Linked DNA regions of Homo sapiens: regions 1 and 2 are each linked to region 3. Evidence: promoter capture Hi-C in 16 types of primary human blood cells and fetal thymus (Javierre and others, 2016). All regions are on one chromosome and are shown on one strand. The core of a region is centred on a gene start or on the middle of the fragment in contact, and the rest is flanking DNA. Distances in the headings are between cores, read along the strand shown. Region 1 overlaps METTL13 (methyltransferase 13, eEF1A N-terminus and K55). Region 2 overlaps DNM3 (dynamin 3). Region 3 holds the start of C1orf105 (chromosome 1 open reading frame 105).

Region 1 (3,607 bases), core at 881-3,380, 640 kb after region 3:
GTTCTTTTAGTAAAATCACTTGTTCGTTACCCATGGTGACCAGGATAGCACAAGACAGTTGGTGTTAACTGATAATACCATATCACCACTTAGGCAAAAACCTTCGGTTTCCTTCCCAGTAAAACACCTGACCAGCAATGTGAATACCTGGATAACTGTGCTGAGCTGTTTTGGCCCTCTTCCATTTATACCCTCAGATAATGATAGTTCTAAGAAGCAAAATGACCAAGAAAGTCCAGTGTGGAAGGAGAAATCCACAGTCAGAGCAACTCAAATTAGGAAGAACTGAAGCCCGCAATGAGTAGAGCATTTCCATCCTGCCATGTCTATGGACTCTGAGAGGCTCCCCCAGACACAGACGCTACTGTGCTCACTTTCCTCTCATTGCCTGGGGCAAAGGACAGTTTCCCTGCCATTTAACCCTTAGCTGCTGATACCCCTCCAGGATTAGATGAAGAGTCACAGACTCTAGTCCTAGCTCCTGCCAAGGCTCCCTCTGCCTCCCTGGCTGCTAACATGACTTCAGAGACCCATGAAAGCCGTACGAAAGCTTTGTTACCTGCTGCTGGGTGGGCATCCCAGCTGGGGCCAGCTCCATGACTCTAGCCGACAGCTCAGCTTGGATGTGGTCCATGCTTTCATACTGCTGACCTCGGTGAAGGGCCACTGTAATCAACCTCCTGAAGCCAGCACTGGCCGCCAGCTGTTTCCGGCCCTCATCCATGCCAAAGAGCCACTCGGTCTCCCGGCCCTGAGGGACTAGAAAAAAGAACTTGGTTACAGGGAGTCCTGGAAAGTGATCAAGCCCACAACCAATATGGCCCAAACGGCAGGGAGCCAGTCCCTGTCCAAGACCAGCATCTTCCCCAACTGTGACCCACTGAGGAGCTAACAATTCTCTAGTTCACAACATCTAGGGCAAAGCAGCCCATCAGACATAAGGCAGGACCAAGGGTGGAGAAGAAGTGTGGGCATGTCCGTAGGGGAAGGAGGCAGACACCTACCACAAGAAAAACAGCAGTAATGCCAACACAAATAAGCCATGCCAGGCATGACTCCAAGCTGTTGACAAATATATATTAATGGAATCCTCCAACAGTCCAAGATGCAGGTAGTAGTATTATTCCCATTTTTACATATGAGGAAACTGAGAAACAGAAGTTACACTATTTGCCCAACTTCGCACAATAAGTAAATGGTGAAGCTGGGACTCAAACCCAGGCAGTCTAGCCCCAGACTCTACCCACGCTTGTATTCACTGCACTATTTATTTCCACACATGGACAGACAGAATTATAGAATACTTGAAAAACTAGCTCAGTCACCAGGAAACAAATTACCGTAACACCAAGACCATAAACACTTTGCATTTGTCTACAATGTTCCACTTTTGAAAGCACTTCCTCCTACTATCTTTTTTATCCTTATTAAGATAAATCTGATATAACTTACTGCTTTCAGTAATAATGGCTAACATTTACACAGCACTTCCAAGGCCAGGTACCATTTCTAAGAGCTTTTATACTTCTCACAACTACACCAGAGTTACAATCCCATCAAGGCAGAGAAAGAAAAGTAACCTGTCTAATGTCACACCATCAGGAAATGACTGAGCCAAAACTGAAACCCAAACAGTCTGGTTCCAGAGCTCACTTTTTTAGCTGCTACCCTATGCTGCCTCTCCAAATTTTGCAGAGAAGCACAGCAACTTCCCCAGGTCCTGCAGCTCACAGGCTACAGCTGGGACTAGAACCTATGTCTTAGACTTGCTAGTCCAGCATTACTTCCATTACTCCATGCTACAAAGTAACTAGCATCTCTATATCATATGTGACCTCCTAAATTTATCTCTATTCTCTCTCTTCCCTACCAACCCCATTCTCACACTTCATCAAGCCTTTGCAATGGCAGATGAAAAGGAATAGGTCTCAACTCCAAGTAGGTTGCTAGAGAGCTATTACTCTCCTTTCATCATGCCTTGGGTAGTCTAATCCTCTGGAAGTACAAACCCCTGCAAGACAAAAAACAGTCCAGAATCCCACCAAAGCCCCAGCCCAGCCTCAGCCCCAGCCCCAGCCCAAGCCCCAGCCCCTGTAAGCCAGCCCCTCCAGGGAAGAGAGGGAGCAATCCCAACTCACTGATGAAAATCGCAAAATGATTGTCCCGCGATGGTTTCACAGTGGGGCTGTCCACCACGTGGAGGGTGTAGCGTGGCTCCCCCGTGTCCCCATCGCACAAGTCCAGAGACACACTCCCCAGCCTGGCCTTGCGGCGCAGCTGGCTGCACAGCCAGGCATACTGCTGTCGCTCCTGCACCGCCTCGGCCAGCCGCTCGGCACTCTCCAGCCGCACAGGCTTGCGCTGCTCCTGAGCACACAGCTCAAAGATCTGAAGGGCAGAGCCAGGGACTGGCCTGAACTTGGTCATGATGAAGGCAAAGACAGGCAAGGAGAACTGAGGCTCTGCTTCCAACACCTGGTCCTGGCTGTTGGCCACTTGGTGCACCCTCACCATCCACCCCTCCCGGGAGAAGTGGCCCACTGCTTTCTTCAGGATGTGAGCCTGAGCCAGGGAGATGCAGAGATAGCGACCGCCCACCTGCAGGACACGGCCAACCTCAGCCAGCATCCTGTCCACCTGTTGTAAGGTCTTCTCTTCCTCATCTGTCAGGACAGCATCCAGGGTGCCCTTGTCCAACACCACCTGGAACGAGGCATCAGGAAACTCCATCTGCGTCATGTCCATCTTCAAGAAGCTCATCTGGGGCCGTCGGGTGGCATTACATTCCTTCATTTGCTTGATGACAACCTCACTGATGTCGATGTTCACTATATCCCGATAGCCCACATCATACAGTTGCTCACTCAGTTCTGAGTTGCCACACCCAATCACCAGCACCTGGAGAAAAAATTCACAGACAAGAGGGAGGTAATCAAAGCAAAGGACTGTACTTCAGGTACTTCAAGGAATCAAGTCTCACCTTGGCTGAGTCACATTTTCAGAAGGTGGAGACGCTACTGCCAGAGAAAGAGCGACATTGTAGAGTTGATGCTAGACTCTATCTTGAAACACCACATATACTTGCTAGTGAAAACCACATTCAGCTACAATACAGGTTATATGAGAATGGGCTTTGTGTTGCAGAAACAAATTAATCATAACTGTTCTTTTCTCTAAATCATGCACTTATTACTCAGGAATTAATAGGAAGTCAGAGAATCCAAATATAGAGTTACAGTTGAAATCCTAGGCCAGGAATAACCCTATTTCCTCACTCTACTCATGCCTTTGGCTCCTTTAGACAATAAAGTACACTTTGTGAGGATTCAAATCTTACTTCCATCACGGATTCCATCTCATGATATTTGGCTATCTTCTGAAGCCGAACTTAAAATTCAGATTGTTGTCTCCCTCTCCAGGGAGCAATCTCCCATTCAAACTTAGAAATTCTGATATTGCCATCTTTGGAAAAGCATGGTACAAAGAGATGTGCATATGCTCTGGAGCCAGACAGGCCTGAGTTTAAATCCCCACATGACCACCTGGACATGATCTTGGGCAAAAAAAAAAAAAAAAGTGGCTCTCGGGGCCTCAGTTTCCTCATCTG
Region 2 (3,930 bases), core at 361-2,860, 550 kb after region 3:
ACTTGAACCCAGGAGGCGGAGGCTGCAGTGAGCCCAGATCGCACCACTGCACTCCAGCCTGGCGACAGAACGATACTCCATCTCAAAAAAAAAAAAAAAAGAGAGACAACTCTTTTTTTAGACTTGCTGGGGTATTTATTTATATCTATTTAATAAACACTGTACTAAGTGCTTTACAAATAGCAACTCACTTAATTCTTAAAACAATGCAGTAAGGTAGGTACTACTATTTTTATAATTTCGCAGATGAGGAAAGTAAAGCCTAGAAGGCTAATTAACTTCCCCAAGGTTGTCCAGGTAGTAAGTGGCAAGGTGAGATTTGAACCCAGGTATTCAGGCTCATTCCAATGCTCTCAAATGCTATGGCACACTCTATTGCCAGTAAATATTTGGTTTACTCCTTCAGATGCCAAATCTAACTTATGTGTCATTTTTACATACTATATTCCAACTCATCTTAAAAAGACAAAGAAAAAAAGGTACAACAGCACAATGAGTTCAATGAAATAATACTGGCTTTTTAAGTAACTTTGGTACAAACAATTCAGACAAAGTAATAATGAACTCTAGAAGTGGCTGAATAAGATGCTGGCAAGCCTGCAGAGGAAAGGGAAGGCTTATACACTGTTGGTGGGAATGTAAATTAGTTCAGCCACTGTGGAAAGCAGTTTGGATATTTCTCAAAGAACTTAAAACAGAACTACCATTCGGCCCAGCAATCCCATTACTGGGCATATACCCAAAGGAAAATAAATTGCTCTACCAAAAAGACACATGCACTCATATGTTCATCGCAGCACTGTTCACAGTAACAAAGACATGGAATCAACCTGGGTGCCCATCAACAGTAAATTGGATAAAGAAAACATGATAGCTACACACCATGGAATACTATGCAGCCATAAAAAGAACAAAATCGTGTCCTTTGCAGCAACATGGACAGAGCTGGAGGCCATTATCCTAAGTGAATTAACACAGGAACAGCAAACCAAATACTGCACGTTCCCACTTATAAGTGGGAGCTAAACATTGGGTACTCATGAACATAAAGATGACAATAGCCACTGGGGGCTACTAGATGGGGAAGTAAAGGAAGGGAGAAGGGCTGAAAAACTACCTACTGGATACTATGGGTACTATGTTCACTACCGGGGTGACAGGATAATTCATACTCCAAACCTCAGCATCATGCAATCTACCCATGTAACAAACGTGCATATATGCCCCCTGATCTAAAATAAAAGTTGACATTATGTTTTAAGGTGGCTGAATAAGTACAAGAGTAGCAAGGCTACTAATCCAGGCTCACTAATCATACATGTGCATTTGCCATGTAATGAACTATATGAATATTATATTTTGATGATAAAAGCATAATAGCCTCAAATACGTCTATAAAAATACAATTTCATCAACTCTACCACTGGATACTTTGTCACTGCAATATCTAAGCCTAAGACTATCACAGATACTACCACTACCAAAACACTGAATTATTTTGACTTGTACCAATGCCACAATTAATTTCATTTCAAGGAATATTTAACTATAAAAACTGCTGGTTTCCCCAATTCTTTGAAATAATTAAGAAATTAATTAAGAGATAATTAACCTAATCAACTAAACTATGCATATGTGTATATCTACACATATCCACATATGTATATATAGATGCATATACATATATGCATATTAGTGACATCCCATTTTAATATCTGAGAAATTTATGTGTGTTTGTATATATGTACATGGATGTGATATCCAATTTTAAAATACAGAAAAACTACCATCTCTAATTAGGAATTGAAAAAACTTAGTTCACATTACAATAAATGTTCAAATGAGTTTCAAGGAAAGAACTGTCTACCGTTTACTAAATAATGTACTCTAATATATACTTCAGCTGTGGCAAGAGGTCTTCTCACATTCCTTTCCTGTGTTCAAGCAACACTTAGAAGAAAAATAGAAACCACTCACTGTAATAATGTCATATCAGAAAAGACTCAAAATGTGCTTCTGGTTTGGATTAGAGCTAAATCCATTAGGAAGTAAAGGAAACAGCTTCTAAAAAGGATTTGATAATATCATCAGGGATACTTATTTTATTGTCATTGAGGGGAAAAAGAAAGGGACAGTATTTTCTTACTTCGTGGAGAACGAGAAAAGAAAAAGCGTACAGTTTTTCGTATGGTTTAAGTCTAATAGTTAAGAACATCAGGCATTTTTACAGTCATTTATCTTGCCATTTGAAACATCAACTCTTGACTGAGGAGATGAGACACAATTAATGCTGTCACCTCCCTCAAGTCCTTGCTTAAATCTCACCTCTTCTTCTTGGACATGCCTGATCCCCCTTACCCTGCTTTGCCTTTCCTTTGGTCCATGGCCCTAATAATCTTGTAATCTGCCACATAATTTACTTATTTACTTTGGGTATTGCTTATCCATCTCCCCAGTTAAAACCTGAGTTCCTCAAGCACAGGAATCTTTGTTTGCTTTATGGCTTTTTTCTAGCTCTTAAAACAGTGCCTGACACACAGTAGGTGTTCAATAAATGTCTGCTGAATTCAGGGTTTTAAATAACCTTTTAAATAATAGTAATATTTTATAGCTAACATTTATGGACCACCTACTACAGGTCAGGCACCATGCTGTACCCTTCAAACCCACTAAAGGAACTCTTCAACACCCTGGGAAATACAGATCATTTTTCTGATGAGAAATGTGTCACTTATAGAGATTGGACAACTTCACAGCTAGTGAAGCTCCCTTCAAGATCTCTTTATCTTATATGATTCAACTTGACTTCTTAAAGAATAGACACCTTTATATCTTACAAATATCCAAATCCATCTGATAACTACAATAACAAAATGTGAGTTAAAGCTAATCAAACACAAGACTCAGACCCCCAGGAGTAATTATGGGATGATTCTGCTCCTCCTTCAATCTTAATAACAACAAAAGAATAACAATTTCTGTAATACTTTACAGTTCATGTTTTTACAAATATTATCAAGTTTGATCTAAACTCTTGAAATACTTTTCACCTGTTATCTTGCTCTTCAACTGACTCGAAAAAGCAAGAGTATCTTGTCCAAATTGGACCTGAATTAAAAAAAAACAAACATTTCTTCAGAAAGAAGGACCTTCTGAGTGGAAATTTCTATAACTTCCAGAGCAAACATCGACTTTCCACATTTTCTCTTACCTACAGATAGGGACTAGGAGAAAAGCAATGTGATTCTGTGGACTCAGACAGAGCACAACCAGGGTCTGGCCAGCATGCCGAGAGACTAGCGGGGACATCCTCTTGGTGTCCTCATTACTAACATCCTGACTTCACTTTCCTAGGAAATGCTAATACAAAAAGAATAAACAAACAATTTGCGCCTAAGAATAGCTTATTCATTCCTACGTACATTATTTTGAAAATATCTAAGGTCCAATATGCCTAGCACTACAGGAGATCCAGTAAAGTATATGGCACAGTTTCTATCCTCATAAACTCTTTAGGAAGACCAGATCTAAATATGAAAAAACAAATGATGGAGAACTGCAAAAAGGAAAAAAAAAGGAAAAACTATTTTGGGGTGGGAGATAACAAAGAAGCTTTTTCATCTCAAAATATACCATTTGGTAATTCACTGCAAAGCCTATATAATGAATAGGATTTGAGAGTCATTTCAAATTCAACTTTCTGTTATAAAGAAGTACACTCTTAAATCCTGTTAAAATTATTCTTTAAGCACTAACTCAAATGTGATGATCTCTGTCATTTTCCCTGATCTTCCCTCAACCCTCTACAATGCTTTGTCATCTCTCAAATTCTCCCTACACACCTTATCACATTCCTTTCCTGATGGGTTATCAGCTAGCTCTGTGAGCTCAATGGCCATAGCTCGTCTGCATGGAGGCTGGCAGTCGGTA
Region 3 (4,059 bases), core at 80-2,579:
TAGCCCATGGTGGTGGAGGTAGTCAAAACTCAGTTTCTGAAACCTGGGATGGGCAATTCTCCTCTGGCTAAGGGTGGTCTAAATGGTCCCTCCATTGGCAACAGCTAAGTTCTGCCCCGTATTGGCAGCACTGAATTCTAGAGTCCCACAATCGCTGTGCCCTCCCTCCAAGTGCACAGATTCTCTCTCCACACTATGTGGCTGCTGCCAGGGGATGGGGGAGGGGTGGTGTCAGCAATTCAAGATTGTCTTTCTTATCTTCCTCAGTGCTTCTTTCAACAATACGAAGTTAAAACCAGGTACTGTGATCACTTTGTGATCACTGATTTTTGGTTCTTATGAAGGTGCTTTTTTGTGTAGATAGTTGTTAAATTTGATGTTCGTGCATGGAGAACAATCAGTGAAGGCTTCTGTTTGGCCATCTTGCTCTGCGTCCTCCCCAACTTAGGATTTTTTTACTTTATCATGGGTTCATCAGGGTATTGCATGCATTTTTGACTTACAATATTTTCAACTTGTGGTGGTTTATTGAGATGTAACCCTATCATAAGTCAAGGAGCACCTGTACTATGGTAATAGAGACAGCTAGTATATCCCTTTAAATAGGAAACATACAGTGTCATAAGCTCAATGTGATTTATTCAGATTTAGACCCTAGTAATTATAAAAGTCTATACAAGTTTTTTTTTCTTTCTCAGCAATCTTAACTTCCTGTGACTGAGATTCATTGTTTTAAAGTGCATTCACAGTTGAGAAGGTTTACTTCAGAATCTCAGGGAACTGCACTAAAGAATCTGGTATCAATTTTCTGAGGATTTAAAAAAATCATACTTAAATGCTGAGTTATAAAAGATGTTGGCAAGTACAACATTTTTTCCAAACTATACGATAAAGAGCATTGAAATTTATCATGCCCCAAACCCATTAAAATTATCTTCACCTGTAACTGAACATCAGCTGTTATTTCCTTACCTTCTTTTGGCTTTCAACTTCTAGGATGTCTGTTGAAACACCCCTCAATGTTTATGTGGCCTCCAAGGCATACAAACATTTACCAGGGTAACCCCATAAGGAAAGAATTGGAAGTTTCATTTATTTTTTTCCTACCTTTAGTTCTCTTTTTTCCATCTTTCAGATCTTTAGATGTTCTGAGTTTTTCTAGCTGGAGACTGGGGAAACCTAGCTCCCCTCACTGTGGCCAGTGGAAGACTGCTGTGGAGAACCTGAATCCAAAGTGTTTTTTGTTAGGAGACGAAGTAAACAGGCCAGTTTACAGTTTCAATACCAGTATGCCTTTTTCTCTACCAACATCTGTGTGATTTACATCTTGAATCATATAATTCCATTCAGAATGAAAAGCTCAGTTTCTGATTGGCTGAAATGAGTTCTAGTATTCCTTTCTTTGTTAGAAGTCAAAATCACAATGTTCTGGAACATTAGCATGTGTTGGGTAAAGTTGATAACAGTATACTAAAACTCAGATAGCTGCTTCAGTACTGAAGTCAGAACAGTTCTCCCTGGAAAGACAACCAAACTTTTCTCTTATTGTAGCACTACATTGTAATTGCTTATTTAGCTATTTTGTAAGCTACTTTTATTCTGTTACTTCTCTGGTATTCCCAGGGTCCAGGACATTATCATGAATTCAAGAAATGTTTGATGCATAAATAAAGGAATGAAAATATATAAGGAATATTATGTTTACTAAAGGCATAATAGTTTGGCTCTTCCTGACTATCCTGAGTTATGATCAACTCTGAAAAAGGGAGTAATTTTTCAAGTCTATTAAACATAGCAGGGTGGAGGTGGAGGTAAGAAGAGTTGGGGAAAGGTATATTATGAAACATAGAAATACTATTTACTAAATACATATTAACAAATCTTAGCATAATTTAATTTTACTCCAGGCTGCCCCCCATCCCTTTCCCCTGCCCTCTTTTTTCTTGCCTATAGAATGTAAGGAAGGGAACACACTTCTTTGTTAAGGAAAACTGAGTAAGGTTGTCATTTCATTCTGTTATGACTGGAGTTTTTCCTTCTCATCATTCATCAGGTCAATTTAAGTTTTATACATCTAAACTGTGTAACACTGCATATAAAAATAAGTCCATGTTTAAGACAAAGTGGAAAAGTACCAAACACTTTTAAAAAATGAATTGAAGAAAACCTTCTCTTTGACAACTTCGGTTTTCATTTGGGGAGGTGGTATGAAATCATCTAGGTACATTTTTGTCTATTGGGATGAAGAATGCTATCCACTAAGAATATTGATTTAAAAATCAAATGCCTGGACTGGAGGGGAAGGAAAGGACAAAAGACTGCATGCTATGTGCTATTTTACATCAAGTCACCTCCTTCCTGCTATACATGAGCTTCAGTTGATGCCTTGGTTTGGAGCCTTTGAACTTTCTTAGTTATCACTGATTTTAAATGGTAGTCACTGGACCGGGGATACAATTAAAATAATGTAACATGCCATATGAACATTTTAAACCAAGAAACTGATTTTTCATTTTTGAGTGGAGAACTCAGTCCTTAAAAAAATTTGTGGTCCGAAGAAACAGCATTACTAATGAGGACTCTCCCTTTTACAACTGGGGGTTCCTGCCCACATCTTCCAAATACCTCCTTTGCCAGGGCTTGCCTAGGTCAGATGTGAAGTAAATAGAACTGATGAATGATTTTTTTGACTCTCTTGTCATGTAGTTTTCTGTCATCTTAATATGCTGAAGGGGAGCACATTCAGAAGTGATCTCATTTGAGAAGGACTACTTTCAAGTTCTATTTTAGGCCACATAAATTTTCAAAAAATAAAATTCTGAATTAAATCTTAAACCTTTGGGAAGGCTTCAGATCACATATTTGGTGGAATGTACTATATTACCTAAATAATAAACATTTTATTTGGATACATCTTTGGGATGCTTGTTAAAAAATTATAGATTAAAATTTTAGTGTTAGAATTACCATTTGAGGATAGAGGAATAAAAAGTTCTCTATTCCTTCAAACTTATATGGACTCCATTTTTCTAGTGCTTTACTGACATCATGAAGAGTCTTTCTTCTCAAGGTGGCAACATTTCCTTGCCTTGTACTTTTATTCTGAATGATGTGGTTTTTCGCCCTTACATTTGCCATATAGAATTTATGAGGTTTATGTGTTTTTGCTCTACAGTTTCTTCTATGATCTTACATTTTATCTCCCTTAAGAGTGTTTAGAAAAACAATAATAGGAAAAAATATTTTGGTGCAATAATAAGTAAAAATGGGATTCCTGGAGGTGGATTGGAATTATTTAGTCTTCTGTGTTTTTTCTAGACATCCATAAATTTTCTTTTTCTTTTTATTCTTCTATTGGACAGAAATTTCACTTGAAGGTAGATTATTAGTCTCTACCAAAGACCGTCTTAAATCACAATGCTTTAAGAACTTTTGAATTAAGCTTCTTAGAGGAACACATAATATATTCACCTTACCTTGTTTTAGTTGAAACAAATTCTTTTTTAAATTTAGGTCTTCTTTAAAAAAAGAAACAGAACACACTTCATTTTTATATAGAATAAACTTTGTTTTTATTATACACATGGATGAAAAATAAAAGTTTTTATGTACATACGACATATAGTGCAAATGAAAAGCTTTTAAATACCATGGATAGACATGTTGTTGGAAACAAAAGGAGATGAATGATGGGGGTTAGGATGGTCGTCCTGGAACTGCAGGAGGGGGTCGCCTAGTAAAAACAAAACAAAACAAAACAAAATAACAAAAAGAAAGACACAGATGCAGAGGAAGAAAACAATGTTTAAATTATAAAATAAACCCAAATAATAGCATGCAAAAATAGCTCACAAAAGTCAAATTCAAATCACACACAAAAACATGCAGACATGCAAAGGAAATGAAGGGACATCACATAGCTAAGTTAGCAGTTCCCAGGACTTTTCCTGGCTACTAGCAATGTTCTAGGTATGAGCCATTTGAGCTCACTCAAAAAGCTTCTTATTTTGCACCATGGAATGATAAATCCATGCACTCTTATTCAGGAGAACTGGGACT

What was found. Contacts are between HindIII fragments. The CHiCAGO score rates a contact against its expected background, and 5 or more counts as called.
Region 1: a contact is called between a fragment that was not itself captured here and the fragment with the promoter of C1orf105 in region 3, in 2 of 17 cell types (naive CD4 T cells and activated CD4 T cells). The highest score is 7.0, in naive CD4 T cells.
Region 2: a contact is called between a fragment that was not itself captured here and the fragment with the promoter of C1orf105 in region 3, in 1 of 17 cell types (M1 macrophages). The highest score is 6.1, in M1 macrophages.

What each region holds. Positions count from the first base shown.
Region 1 is chr1:171,783,031-171,786,637 of GRCh38, reverse strand. METTL13 (methyltransferase 13, eEF1A N-terminus and K55) reads right to left here. Exons shown (of 8, transcript NM_015935.5): 2 at 2,139-2,898; 3 at 560-759. Among named protein-coding and RNA genes, the nearest start is that of METTL13, 3.2 kb to the right of the region's middle. The HindIII fragment of the contact is 3,155 bases long and covers 553-3,607 here.
Region 2 is chr1:171,871,984-171,875,913 of GRCh38, reverse strand. The region is part of intron 1 of DNM3 (dynamin 3); the gene reads right to left. Among named protein-coding and RNA genes, the nearest start is that of DNM3-IT1, 9.8 kb to the right of the region's middle. RefSeq lists an enhancer at 3,600-3,930. The HindIII fragment of the contact is 4,009 bases long and covers 1-3,614 here.
Region 3 is chr1:172,417,955-172,422,013 of GRCh38, reverse strand. It overlaps C1orf105 (chromosome 1 open reading frame 105), which reads right to left and starts at 1,329. Exons shown (of 7, transcript NM_139240.4): 1 at 1,108-1,329. The coding sequence starts at 1,128. All of the region lies in intron 1 of LOC102724528 (a long non-coding RNA gene), which reads left to right. It also overlaps a transcript of DNM3 not described here. The HindIII fragment of the contact is 10,347 bases long and covers 1-3,444 here.